2 separate regions of the Homo sapiens genome follow, and region 2 is linked to region 1. Evidence: promoter capture Hi-C in 16 types of primary human blood cells and fetal thymus (Javierre and others, 2016). All regions are on one chromosome and are shown on one strand. The core of a region is centred on a gene start or on the middle of the fragment in contact, and the rest is flanking DNA. Distances in the headings are between cores, read along the strand shown. Region 1 holds the start of SSTR1 (somatostatin receptor 1). Region 2 overlaps LOC105370456 (a long non-coding RNA gene).

Region 1 (6,896 bases), core at 3,852-6,351:
TAAATTTGTATCCTCTTAGAAGGATAATGATTAAGATTTTGATTTGTAAATTTCACAGTTCTTAACCATTAAAAATCTATTTTCCAAAGGAGTAGTAATATATATTTTTATTAAGGGACAGATCTAAACTTTCTGATTTATGACCCAAAGCATATTTGTTCATTAGTTTAAGCAAAACATTAGGGATATCTTAACTCTTGGTTACTGCTTTCAGGAAAGCACAAAGTTGTTGAAGCAAATATACACAAAACGTATTTTTCAATAGTGATTTTAACCATTGTATATCATGTCAATGAGTGAACCTGAGAACCCCAGATTTAGTATCTCCAGATTGTTGTAATACACTCTGGCTTAAACAATCAACCAACAAACATGTATTTAGTGCCTACTATGTACAAGCCAGCATACTAAAGCAATACAGGAAATATAAATAATTAAAATTATTGGTCCTCGCCCTGCTCAGGCTTCCAATGTAGTTGGTAATATTAAACACAGACACAAATTATTTCACTTTCAATGTCCTCAAAAAAAGTGATGATGTTAACTGGATCATATGTAAGAATCACCTCTGCTGGAACCCAGAGGGAGCAGGGGCATCTTCAGCAGTGATTAAAGTCTCTGTCTGAATTAGATTCCTCAGCTCCAGGTTTGAGTGCTGCTTGCACTCCTGAAACTGAAAGTGTTCCAGCCAGACTCACACCTGTCACCATCAGTGGCTATACTTAGACTCATGGACTCATGACAATGGAGCAAGATAAGTATACATATGTCCACATCATATATATAAATATATATACACTCAAATTATATATAGGGTGATGTTCCCCTATATATGTCTCCTGGAAAGCCAGGAGTTCAGGACTTTCCACTGTGCATGGAGAGGAGGATAACCCACATTATCATTTATGTATTATCCTAATAAGACAAACAAGAGACTATAGTAAGAAAAGTATGAAAAATCTCCAAACTTCACTCAACACAATCAAAAATAGAAAAGCTAGAGGAAAGGATGAGATAAGAGGGCCCAGCATTGAGGAGAGGCGTTGAGATGGCCAGGGAGTGGGGCAAGAGCTTGCCCCTACTTCCACTTCCATGCCCGCCCCCAGGGTCCCAAAGAAAAGACCTGGGGCTAGGCAAGCAGAGAAAAGGAAAGCAGAGACACATTTTCCAACACGACAAATAAATTAATAAATATATATGTTAAACAAGAAAATAACTTCTTAGGCACCGCTTGAAAGGCAGCAACCCTCTAGAGACCAGGCAGGCCCCACTCGGGAGCCTGCAGGTTGCGGCGACACCGCCAACACTGGCGGACTCTGAAGACGTCGCCCTAGGTCCCCCGCCCCTGGCGCCCGGTCTTTTGAGATACACTGGAGCAGGAAACCTTATCTATTGTTACTTTTAGGTCGGCTCCTCCGGAAACTTGGGTGAGGGAGAAAGCCAAGGCGGGCTGCAGCCCTGCAACCGAACCCCGAACCCCGAACCCCGGGGAAGGTGTGCCCTGCACTACCCTGCCCTGCCTAACGCAGACGCGCGGCCCGGGAGCGCCCAGCGCTTGGTCTTTGAAAACGCGCAGTAGGAGGGTGATTCCTATTACGCGCCCACACTCCGACCCCGCAATCTTATAAAAACTCCTCATTCGGCTTGTTCTCAGCTCCTTCTTTGCTCCAAAGGAGGGCTTGGGTGGGAACTCCAGAAAGCCTGGAGTTCGAAGCGCGGGACCTATTTTACTAAGCACCTGGCTCTACTCTGGGTGGAGTGAGAGTGGTGGTGGCGGGCGGGCGGCGAGAGGGGGACAGGGGAGGGCAGGGAAAGATGCACCTTCACCCAAGAGTAGGAGAAAAGACCAGCTGCTTAGATCTTTCTCAAGTCCAACTTTCCTTAAGGTAGGGCTGCGCAAAGGGAGAGCGGTCATTCCCGGGACTCCAGTAGGGGCACCAGACAGAACCTGGACAGCGGCCCCGCGCGGCTAGGGACTAACGCCGAGGGAAACCCGTGGCGGTATCCGTGGCTCAGCTTAAACAAACAGAAATAACGACTGGAGGGGCTGAGGATCAGAATGAGTTGTTAATGAGTTCGTGATCTGCACTGGCGGGACGGTGCGGAAGAAAGGATAGAAGTTGCAGGGTAGGGAAAATAGAAGGAGGGTCAGAGGAGTAAGCGCAGTGGAGGAAGGAACAGAAAGTGGGAGACCCAGAAAAAGGTAGCCTGAAAGCCTTCCCAGTTTATAAGCAAAGCTCTCACTTCTACCATTGTCGCGCGCCTTTCTTGGGTTCCTCCATCAAAGGCTGTCAGTGTCCTAGCCCCACGTTATCCCGACAGCACCCTGGCGCCCTGGATACCGTCCCTTTCGCACCCGGCCTTCCCTTCTCATTCTCCCCCTCTTTTGGCTCAGGGCCCCTGCGTGGCCCGGGCTCAGAGCCCCTGCGTGGCCCGGGCTCAGAGCGTCGTGATCCGGGACGTGCAGGTGCCATTACGGAAGACGCCGCCGGACTCCAGGTTCTCAGGTTGGAAGTCTTCCACACTGTAGGCACGGCTCTTGAGCGCGGTGGCGTAATAGTCAACCGGCTCCTCCGCGGCGTTGTCCATCCAGCTGAGGCATAGGATGCGTTGGAAAGAGCGCTTGAAGTTGTCTGAGAGAAAGCCATAGAGGATGGGGTTGGCGCAGCTGTTGGCATAGCCGAGGATGACCGACAGCTGACTCACCGTGGCGTCGTCCTGCTCAGCAAACACGTTGACCAGCTGCACCACGTAGAAAGGCATCCAGCAGATGACAAACACCATCACCACCATCATCACCATTAAGGTGATCTTGCGCTCCGAGCGCTTGCGCTGCTGCCAGCCGGCCTTGAGGGCCACCATGCGCATCTTAGCAATGATGAGCACGTAGCACAGGCAGATAGCCCCCACGGGCAGCAGGAAGCCCATGAGAAATGTGTACAACACGAAGCCCACCAGCCAGCGTTGAGCGGGCTCTGGCATGAGCATGTTGCAAGCCACCGTGCCGTCGCTGTTGGCCGCGGTGCGAGAGAAGACCACGATGGGCAGGATGACGAGCAGCGATAGCACCCACACGCCCAGGTTTACTACCTTGGCCACGGTGGGCCGGCGGTAGCGGGCCGCCTTGATGGGATGCACCACGGCCACGTAGCGGTCCACGCTGAGCACAGTCAGACAGTAGATGCTGGTGAACATGTTGACCGCGTCCACGCTGAGCACGAGGCGGCAGAGCAGCGCACCGAAGGGCCAGTGGCGCAACAACGTGGAGGTGACTAGGAAGGGCACGCTGAGCATGAGCAGCTCATCAGCAATGGCCAGATTTAGGATGTAGATGTTGGTGGCCGTCTTCATCTTGGCATAGCGCAGGATCACGTAGATGACCATAGAGTTCCCACACAGCCCCACCAGGCACACCACGGAGTAGATGAAAGAGATCAGGATGGCGCTGCCCTGGCCCTCGCTCAAGGTCCCGTTCTGGGACGCATTTCGCCCTGGCTCCTCCATGCCGTCCGCAGCGCCGGCCCCGGGGCCCCTGCTGCCGCCGCCTTCGCCGCAGCTGCCCGGGCTGGGGCTAGGAGAGGAGGAAGGAGAGGAGGCGGTGCCATTGGGGAACATCCCAGCTGAGGGGGGCCAGTGGGGCTGCCAGGGCTGGGGCTTTCTCCTCGCGCACCCGCCGCCTGCGCCCTCCCTCCCCACCCGACCGCTTGCCTGCAGCCCACAGCCGCCCAGCGCCTCCGGGTAGAGCGCAACCGCTGCGGGGAGCGCGGCTCCTACCGGCGCCGGCGGGGCGCACAGCCCAGCGGTTGCCTGGGCTCTGCAGTTTGCAGCTCCGGGGTGCCCGGGCACAGGCGACCGTGGAGAGGAGAGGCCAGGATGTGGGAGCACCGCACGGCACAGCCATTAACTGGCGCGGCTCTGGACTGGTAAATGATTAATAGGCACCACCAGCGCGTCAGCAGCTACGAAAAAAGGGGGTGGGGTGGAGAAAGGGAGGAGAGCACATAGGTGGCTTGTCCCCCCCGCCCCCCATTTTTTTCCTTCCCAGTCCTGCACTCTGCTCAACTTTAGTGGCTCCTTCCGGGGTTCCCTCGCAGCACCATCTGCCTCTTGCTCTCAGAGGAACCAAGAGAGTTCCTCGGCCTTACTGGAGGGCGGGTGGGAACCAAAGGTATAGATTCTGTCTCATTCCACTCCTCTCCTACCCAAAGCAAAGACTCAAACGGATCCATGAACATGGATGTCTGGAGTTCATCTCAGTTTCCCTCCATTGCTGCCCTTTTCTCTGGAGACCCCAGCTTCTCTCCCGTCCCGCAGTCCAGAACCCTAAATTCCCTCTTCCCACCCTCGCTTGCCTTGCAGCTCAGACCCGCCAGGGAAGTTCCGGGCCCTCCTTACCCAAAGTGCGCAACCTCCAGACTGAGACGTAGATGGTCGGTGCAAAGTGCATGTGCGGTCTGTTAGCAGGTTGACGATCTTCGCGCAGACCAACTCCCTTCTTTGCGCCTGGCCCCAGCACAGGTGCCCACGCAATTACTCTTAGAATCGCGGAAACTGGCCCTAAGCTGCGAGCGTTATGAGAAGAAAGGACAACCACCGTGCGTTAGGGGCTTCTGCGCTATAACACAGCAGGCAGCTTAGGCTATTGGGAGTGTTCAGGGACCTGAGTGAACCATTCGCAAATCTCTTAATAAAGCTCGTAGCGCTCAGAGCCCCCCGTGTCTCCCACAGGAATATCGACTGCAGAAACGAGGACGCGCAGCTGGGAGCTCTGGAGGAGCTTGAGACTCCCTCCAGAAACGTGCCAGGCGCGGTGTTGGGAATCCACCTAGGTGTTCACTCGGGAAAGATAAGGCTGCGCCGCTTGGAAGGGCTCCACCCGCGTCCCTGCTGTACTTTGTACCCTGGAGAGTTGGCGGGTTCTGGCAGACGAGAGTTTAAAGGCTTGGGCGGGCGGGGACGCCAGCTCTTCTAAATCCAGGTGAGGAGCTGCCGCCGTGCGATGACCAGACCTGTCACCAACCCCAGGAACGGCAGGGCGACATTCGAGTTTTTCCGGGAAGAGCTAGGATGTCAGCTCTTTCTGAGGCTTGATTTGTGAGCTGGCTCTGGGTCACGTGCCCAAACCATTAGGAGATATCAATGTAGGCAAGCCTGAAGCTCACTGACTTCATTTAAGAATCAAAACGGTTTTCCCGTAAGAAAGAATGTATGTTCCGTTATCAGGATTTTAAACGAACCCTGGGACTTACCACCATTCTTACTCTAGGGTCTCTTTGGCTTTCCAACTGTTCCTGTGGAAGGAAGAATCACACTCCATGCAACTTCCCTGTTCCTTTTCATAAACGTTGCTTTGCTCGGTAAGATCCCTGCAAGCCTTTATTTGAAACTAGCCTGTTCACAGGAAGAGTGACCCGCAGCAGCTTAGTGCTCTGCCTCCTTCAAGCTTTGCTGTCTCCAGTTTTTCCTTAGTTTCTCCTTCTCCTCAACCAGGCTGTGCCCGCTGTACTGTAAGTCTCAGTTTTCCTCCTCTCAGTAGAGTTTACTCCAAGGAGAGGCTAAACTCCTCATGGAGGCTATCTGTACCGGTCCAGAATGAAGAAATGGATGCAGAAATTAAAAACAAAAAAGTATATTTCCTAATGCCCTGTTGCTTTATCCAGGTAATCACTTACATATACTGCATGTGTTTTAGTTCCCAAAACTAATTGTCTTGAACAGGAAAGAATAACTTCTGTAGTGTGTTGATGATAGCAATCAAAGACTAAAATAAATGACAGACTTTCATAGGAATGTGTGCAATTATTAATGAGGAATGTGCTAGGATGGAATTTGAAATTTCATACGGCTGAAACTGTTTTAACCCATTATTTTACCTGAACAAATTGCCTTCTTTAAAGTGGAATGTACAATTGGTGTTTAGTTATATTTATTTTTCCTTTACAAATACAGCACATATGGAGAGAAAATAAATGTTCATTAAGTTAAAAGAAAAGAGAGTGGGTATTGTCCCAGAATCCCAGAAGAGCATTTTACTAGCCAAGCCTCATATAATGCCTTAGATGCCTCTGCCAATCACTGACTAAAGACACCTGACTATCTGTACCTCTGGGAGCTTGGATTTCAACAGTCATTATTTAGATGCCTTGGCTTTGATCATGGTTGCTCTTTGGGAAGTGTGTGATGGGAGTCAGTGAAAAACAGCTCTGTTGTTCAGAATTTCATTAAATTCACTTTCAGCTCATCTTAGGGAAAATTTCTCTCAATTTTGTGGCCTCATATACAAAAGAAGAAAACTTAAGACCTGACGTGAGAATGCTTTTTATTTTTATTTTTTTGAGATGCCACTTTTCACCCACTAGGATGGCTATAAGAACATTTTTAAAAACAAAAAATAAACGTTAGTGAGAATGTGGAGAAATTAGAACACTCATACATTGCTGGTGGGAATAAAAAATGATGCAGCAACTTCAGAAAAAAATTTTGGCAATTGCTTAAAAAGTTTAAAAGTTTAAAAGAATGACCATATGAGCCAGCAATTCCACTTCTATTTACTCCTCAAAATTGAAAACAGGTGTTTAATCAAAAACTTGTGCATGAACATTCATAGCAGCACTATTCATAATAGCCAAAAATTAGAAACAATCCAAATATCCATCAATTGCTGAATTAATAAATTGTGGTATATCCATACAATGGAATAGTATTCAACCATAAAAAGAAATGAAGTACTAATACCTGCTTCAGCGTAGACGAAGCTTGAAAACACTATGCAAAGGGAAAGAAGCCAGACACAAAAGGCCACGTGTGGCATGATTCCATTTATATGACATGCCCAGGGCAGGCAATACATACAGACAAGGTACGTTAGTGGTTGCCAGGGGCTGGGGGCAGAGGGG
Region 2 (6,333 bases), core at 2,606-5,105, 190 kb after region 1:
TTGATTGTGTAGTTGCTTTATAGTGTCAATAGTCTGTGTACTTAAGTGTGCTTTTGTTTTGGTTGGTAATGATCTTCTATTTCCATGTTTAGCACTTCCTTATGGACCTCTTGTAAGTAGGTCTGGTGATAACAAATTCCCTTAGTATTTGCTTGTCTAAAAATAATTTTATTTCTCCTTTGCTTATGAAGCTTAGCTTGACTGGCTATAAAATTCTTGGTTGGAAATTCTTTTCTTTAAGGATGCTGAATATAGGCCCACAATCTCTTCTGGCTTGTTGGATTTCTGCTGAAAGGTCCACTGTTAACCTAAAGGGGTTCCCTTTATAGGTTACCTGCACCTTCTCTCTAACTGTCTTTAATATTTTTTCTTTCACATTGGCCTTGGAGAGTCTGATGACTATGTGTCTTGGGGATGGTCATTGTGTATTGTATCTTTCAGGGGTTCTCTGAATTTCTTGAATGTAAATGTCAACTTCTCTAGCAAGATTGGGGAAATTTTTGTGGACAATATCCTCAAGTATATTTTCCAAGTTGCTTGCTGTTTCTCCCTCTCTTTCAGGGACACCAATGAGTCATAGGTTTGGTCTTTTTACATAATCTTATATTTTTCAGAGGTTTTGTTCATTTTTATTTATTCTTTTTTCTTTATTTTTGTCTGAGTTGATTCAAAGCATCAGTATTTGAGCTCTGAAATTCTTTCCACAGCTTGGTCTATCCTGCTGTTAATACTTGGGATTATATAATAAAATTCTTGCAGTGAGTCTTTCAGCTCTATCGGATCCATATGGTTCTTTCTTAAAATAGCTATTTTTGTCTTTCATCTCTTGAATCATTTTAGTGGATCCCTTAGATTCCTTAGATTGCATTTCAACTTTCTCCTGAATCTCAGTGAGATTTATTGCCATCTAGATTCTGAATCCTATGTTTGTCATTTCAGCCATTCCGCTCTGGTTAAGAACCATTGCTGGGGAGCTAGTACAGACCTGAGTTTCAATGCCAGGCATATTGGAAGCCAAATTGTACAACACTGTTCTGGCCCCTTCTGCCTTTGTGTGCAATAGCAATGCTCAAGATAGGGAGAAGCCCAGGAAAGGAGAGATAAGGCCGAGTGTCTGAAATGTCAGGTATTTTTATTGTCTTGATTTCTTTGTTACACAGTAAATTGTTAATAACTTAGACTTTTTAACCATAGAGGTTTGACATCTTTATGTGAATTTTGGAAATGTATTAGTATGTCTCTAAAGTGGCATAATTCTGATTATTAAAACCTACTAATTTATTAATATATCTTTAATTTCATTAGAAGACAATGATAAGATGGAGTTTAACTCAAAGAAATTTTCATTAGTACAAATTTTACAAATATATCTCTATTCTGATACAAAGATCTACCAGTACAGAGAGGGATAATGACCTTTTTGTGGGATTTAGGAGACCCACCTGGGTCTTATAAAGTTTTCTGTAATGCTTAAGCCCTTTAACTATTGACTATTGACCAATTATGGTAATTGAAGATGTGACTTCTATCAATATAATTATAAGACTTTTGGATATAGCTAGAGTTAAGATTTAAAAAAATTTTAACAGTGACAGATGATGATATTTTTGTCCTTTACCTGATATTTATGTATCTTTTTAGGCTTGTTTTAATTTTCATGATAATATGGTACCATGTCTTTTTCTTTGAACCCTGAGATTAATAAAATGTATTCCTGGAGACTTCCTATTCACATAAGTGCTATTATCTCAAAATCTTGCTATAAGAAAACATCACAAGCCTCAATTCCTTCCTGCCCTTTTCTCCGTGTTACTTGTCAAACTGTTACTGGAAATGAGTATCTGACCTTTTTTTCTCCCACACAATTTCTAATAAAGATGCTGCCACACGGCTGTATCCTAGTAACTAGGTTTTATGCTGAGAAAGACTATTAAGAAAGAGTCCAAGATAGGGCTAATTTCGACCATCAGTAAAGGTAATTTGCTAGTCTTGTTCTTTTTCTTGATTTCTTTAATTTAGATGAATAACAGAGCTAACCTTAATGTTCCTTCTGATAAAAATACTGTCCTATAGACCCAAATTAGCATATTTGCTTTTGATTACCTTGCAAAACTCTATTTGCTCTCTTTTCTTAAAAGCTTAATAATTCATATAAGGCTTCAGAGGAATAAAATCACTATGTGCGGGTGAAAAATCCTAACTTCCCTGCTGAGGTTAAATGGCAGCCTTCAAAGAATTTTTTAAATAAATAATGGAAAGAGATACTCCATCTTGCCTCTGAACTGCTGCATAAGCAATTCCTTATCGCCGGAATTTGCAGAGACATAAGAAATCAGTAGTCATACAGGCAGGTACTAGAAACCAGGAAGCACCAATATCCTAACTGAAGGGCAGAGACTGGAACTGCTCTGCTTCAGGGCTTTGTGAGACTCTGGGAATCAATTCCTCAATTTTCAATGCAGTAGCTTGCTTTTGCACTCCTAAGGCATGAAATTGGATGAGCGGAAAAAATGCATTCTTTTCAGGCAGAACACAGGTTTAAGGAAACAAGAGGGGAAAATGTACAGGTGCCCTGGAGAAGGGACTTCTTCTCTTGGAACAGTCTACTGGGCAGACTAGGAAAGGAATCAGAGGAAGTTTGAGGGTGAGCTTGTTGCTGGGGTATGGCATGACATTTTTGCTTTGTAGATCATAGAGGAAGATGGGCACCACTGCCCCAACTCATTTCCTCCCAGCCTGAGTTTGGTATGCCTTTGTCACCTAAAGTCATGAAGGTTCAATCAGAATTCCAGTAGCATTAGGTTGTAAACACAGAAGTGGTTTCCCAAAGGCCAACCCATGTCCTAGTTGCTACTTGTACTTAATTCAAGCAGCTTTAGTGTCTCACTGGGCTGGCAGGTCTGGGAAGTCAGATCTGACATGCAGTAGGATGTGCTCATCATAGAAATCACACTTCTCCAGAGTAATTTTTAAGGTAATGTGAACTAAAGTTAATTTCTCAGAAATGTTGCAGGCCCTCTCTCTCTAGAAGTATACTTTTCAGTCCTCTAACTATGGTTGTTTTTCTTCTTTCAATGAAATCAATGCAACCTATACTAACTTGGGACAATGGACCCTGCAACATCCAGTATTTCAGCTGCAGTGGAGTTACTTTCCCAAATGCTTCAGGCATCTGTTTCTTCATTTCTTTCTTCTTTTGCTGTAAAAGAGCTCCATATGTCTTGTTTTAACACAATATGTTTGCAACCACAGCAAATTAAACAATGCCAGTTGAGAACCATATACTAAAATATGAAAATCTAAATCAAATTTATATCTTCACAATGCAATGTTTTCTGAACTTCGCTTGTGCACATACCATCATCACGATTTTTGTCATATCCACATTTTACCTATAGTATTAGTAATTTTCTTTTCTTTTAAGTTGACTCACATTTTTACCTCCATACATTAATTTCAAAGGAAGCTACAATAAAAGTAGCATATCACTCATCATAAACAAGAAGTAAATATAGATATGTAATCATTAAAACATAAAAATTTTGTCACCCCCCTGAAAATTATCTGCATACCATATTTTGAAAAATTATTGTACAGAGATTTATAATTTATAGATTTCTCTAGCATAAATTAATCCATTTAATTTTCACAAGAATTCTATGAATTTGGCAAGCAGATACAGTATAACCATCCACATTTTAGAGACAAGAAAACAAGGACTGGCTCTTTAAAAAAAAAAAAAAAAAAAAAAAAGTAGAGTTTTCATACCGAAAGAGAGCTTGCTGTTGTTTTTGTTTGAAGCCCATATTATCTAATTTTGTACAGTTTATGTGTGACTTTTCCAGGTTCGTTTGTGGTCTAAGAGTCTAAAATTCAAGACTACAGTTCTTCTAGAACACTGTTTTAATTGATTCCTTACTCACTTACAATCAAAAATCTTCTTGTGACTGTCCACATTTTGATTGCACTAAAACTGTGCCAAAATAAATATATTTGAAATAATTGATAATTTATGGAACCCTTAAAAACCTTCTTAACACAAAAATTTTATGTGGTAAGGTAGGTAACATTTTTCTATGCTGCAAATTAAGAAATCATGAAATATTTAAATAATTTGTCCCAAATCAAACATCTTTCTCTACAATTAGAAACACCAAAAATTGTTAAATTTGTGTGAAAACTCGAGAGGTTTAAGATAGCGCTTTATAAATCATATTGGAAAACAACACTATTATGTGAAATTCCTCACAGCAAAAATATGTTATAAAATGTCTTAGCGATTTTTTTCACTTCACTAATGAAGAGGTAAGTTGTAATCATCTAAAGCAAATAGTGATACTAAAATCACAGATAGATATTTAAGCAAGAGATAACACATACTCTTAGTCAAAGACACAGGAAATATTACATAAACATTCAACAAAAACATTCATAAGAAAAGAAAATTGGCATTATATCATTGAGAATTACATTCATTCATTCTACAAATAAAATATTCTTAAATTCCTATTGCTTCTATAATTCTCATTTTAGTTTATTTTCAATTATATAACATGGGCATTTTAAAATTTGTGATGATATAGAGGGATATTAAATATAAATAAATGTTTCTCCCTCTTTCCTTTCTTCATTCTCCCTCCTTTCTTCATTCTCCCTCTCCCCAGTCCTACTTCCTAATTTCATTCACCAGAGGTAATCATTATTAAATTTTTGTGTGTGTATATGCTTTCAGAAGTTTGATGCATATGCATATGCTTTGTTTTTAGGCAAACGGAATCTGAAAATACTTACATACACACTGTTTTGAATCATTTTTTCTTGATATCGATATCTTTTTATGTTGTTATATACCAACCTTTTACATTCTTTTAATTGTAACAGAGTGTTCCATTGAATATATGTGCAACCATTTATATTGCTGGTTGTCAGATTTTTTTTCTGTAAAGAATCATATGGCAAATATTTCAGGCTTTGTGAAATATTTGGTCTCTGTCACAACTATTCAACTCTGCCATTGATAATACATAACTGATGGGTATGGCTGTACTCTGATAAAACTTGACAAAAACAGGCTATAGGCGGGATTTGGCCCACAAAACATAGTTTATTGACCCCTGATCTAAATAATTAGTGACCTATAATATCTAAATAATAGTCACAGTATAAACAAGTTATTTTCTGTTTGTTGCTATTAAAAATAGTGCTGCTATGGGACTCTTTAATGTATTTGCATTTGCTCGATTAAGTTAAAATGAATACACCACAGAGTATTTAAAATATTGCTTTATGTGTGAAAAAACAATCCTGTATATTCTGGGCTTCTGTCCATCAAGTGCTTGTGTTCTCTCCATGGACAAATAGATATTTTCTGTCTGTGCTGTTTTATTTTTTTATCTGGCCACTTTCCTACCTTACTATTGGCTAAATGAAAAATCCAGAGACTCGAATCTATTATTGTATCTATTTCCTGTTTCCCCTGACTTGTGTTATCCAGGGATTAGTGACAAGAAAGTGTTATCCTTATGGGAGAGGAACTGTCTAACTCAAAGATTATATGTGAAGGGAAAGCTTAATGGAGATTGAATTAAATACCTGGTATTTTTCTTTTCAACTATTTTCTCTTTCATTTTCTTTTTTTTTTTTTTCAGAGATTCTTTGTGGCAAGTTGAGTTTGTATCAGAATAGCTCCAGACAATGGAGAGATTCTAGAATCAGCTTTTAGCCTTTAATTAAAGACCTGAAAGATATTGCTATCAGCCACTTCAAGGTATAGAGAAATTAATACTCTGAACTGCAGGGTATCTGAGAGAACAAGTAATCAGATGCTGTGTTATCACAGAAGATAATGGGCACTATTTCTTGCTCCTCCTTGAGTTAAATGTTTATACAATGTCTGGCAAGACCCTTACAGGTAGAGCTAAACAGCATCTTCTGTTCCAGCTTTTCTACAAACGGTCTCATGATCAGCCCCTGCAGACATATGAATTTTAACTCAGTTTTGCTTCCTTTGTAGTTGAAGTGCTCATTGGGGATGTCATTACTATCTGGAGAACTTGCATTTTCCTTTTTCACTAGGCTTAGCAAAATAAAGTCCTTGTGTCTTTCGTTCCTCATCATCCCAGCAGACTTTTAGGCTGAGATTTTTGAACAAATATATTTGTACTTGAAATTTATTGAATTTGTGGCTGAATGTCTCACCTTTAGAGAGGATCACTCAACACCTGAATAAGACTCCCAAACTAACAAAGGAGCTATAAACCCATGAAGTATTGCTGATAAGGCAGTTGATATTAATCTGGGTCTGAAATCTGGCTTGACGGAAATCCAGTCAGG

Evidence for each region. The method cuts DNA at HindIII sites, captures the fragments that hold promoters and counts their contacts. A CHiCAGO score of 5 or more calls a contact.
Region 2: a contact is called between a fragment that was not itself captured here and the fragment with the promoter of SSTR1 in region 1, in 1 of 17 cell types (neutrophils). The highest score is 5.5, in neutrophils.

What each region holds. Positions count from the first base shown.
Region 1 is chr14:38,206,109-38,213,004 of GRCh38, reverse strand. It overlaps SSTR1 (somatostatin receptor 1), which reads right to left and starts at 5,101. Exons shown (of 3, transcript NM_001049.3): 1 at 4,901-5,101; 2 at 4,396-4,562; 3 at 1-3,959. The coding sequence starts at 3,615. The coding sequence ends at 2,440. LOC124903303 (a long non-coding RNA gene) reads left to right here and starts at 3,718. Exons shown (of 2, transcript XR_007064117.1): 1 at 3,718-3,923; 2 at 4,729-5,790. RefSeq lists enhancers at 2,248-2,950, 2,951-3,654, 4,638-5,299. The HindIII fragment of the contact is 9,392 bases long and covers 1-5,445 here.
Region 2 is chr14:38,018,930-38,025,262 of GRCh38, reverse strand. All of the region lies in intron 3 of LOC105370456 (a long non-coding RNA gene), which reads left to right. Among named protein-coding and RNA genes, the nearest start is that of LINC00517, 120 kb to the right of the region's middle. The HindIII fragment of the contact is 3,430 bases long and covers 2,141-5,570 here.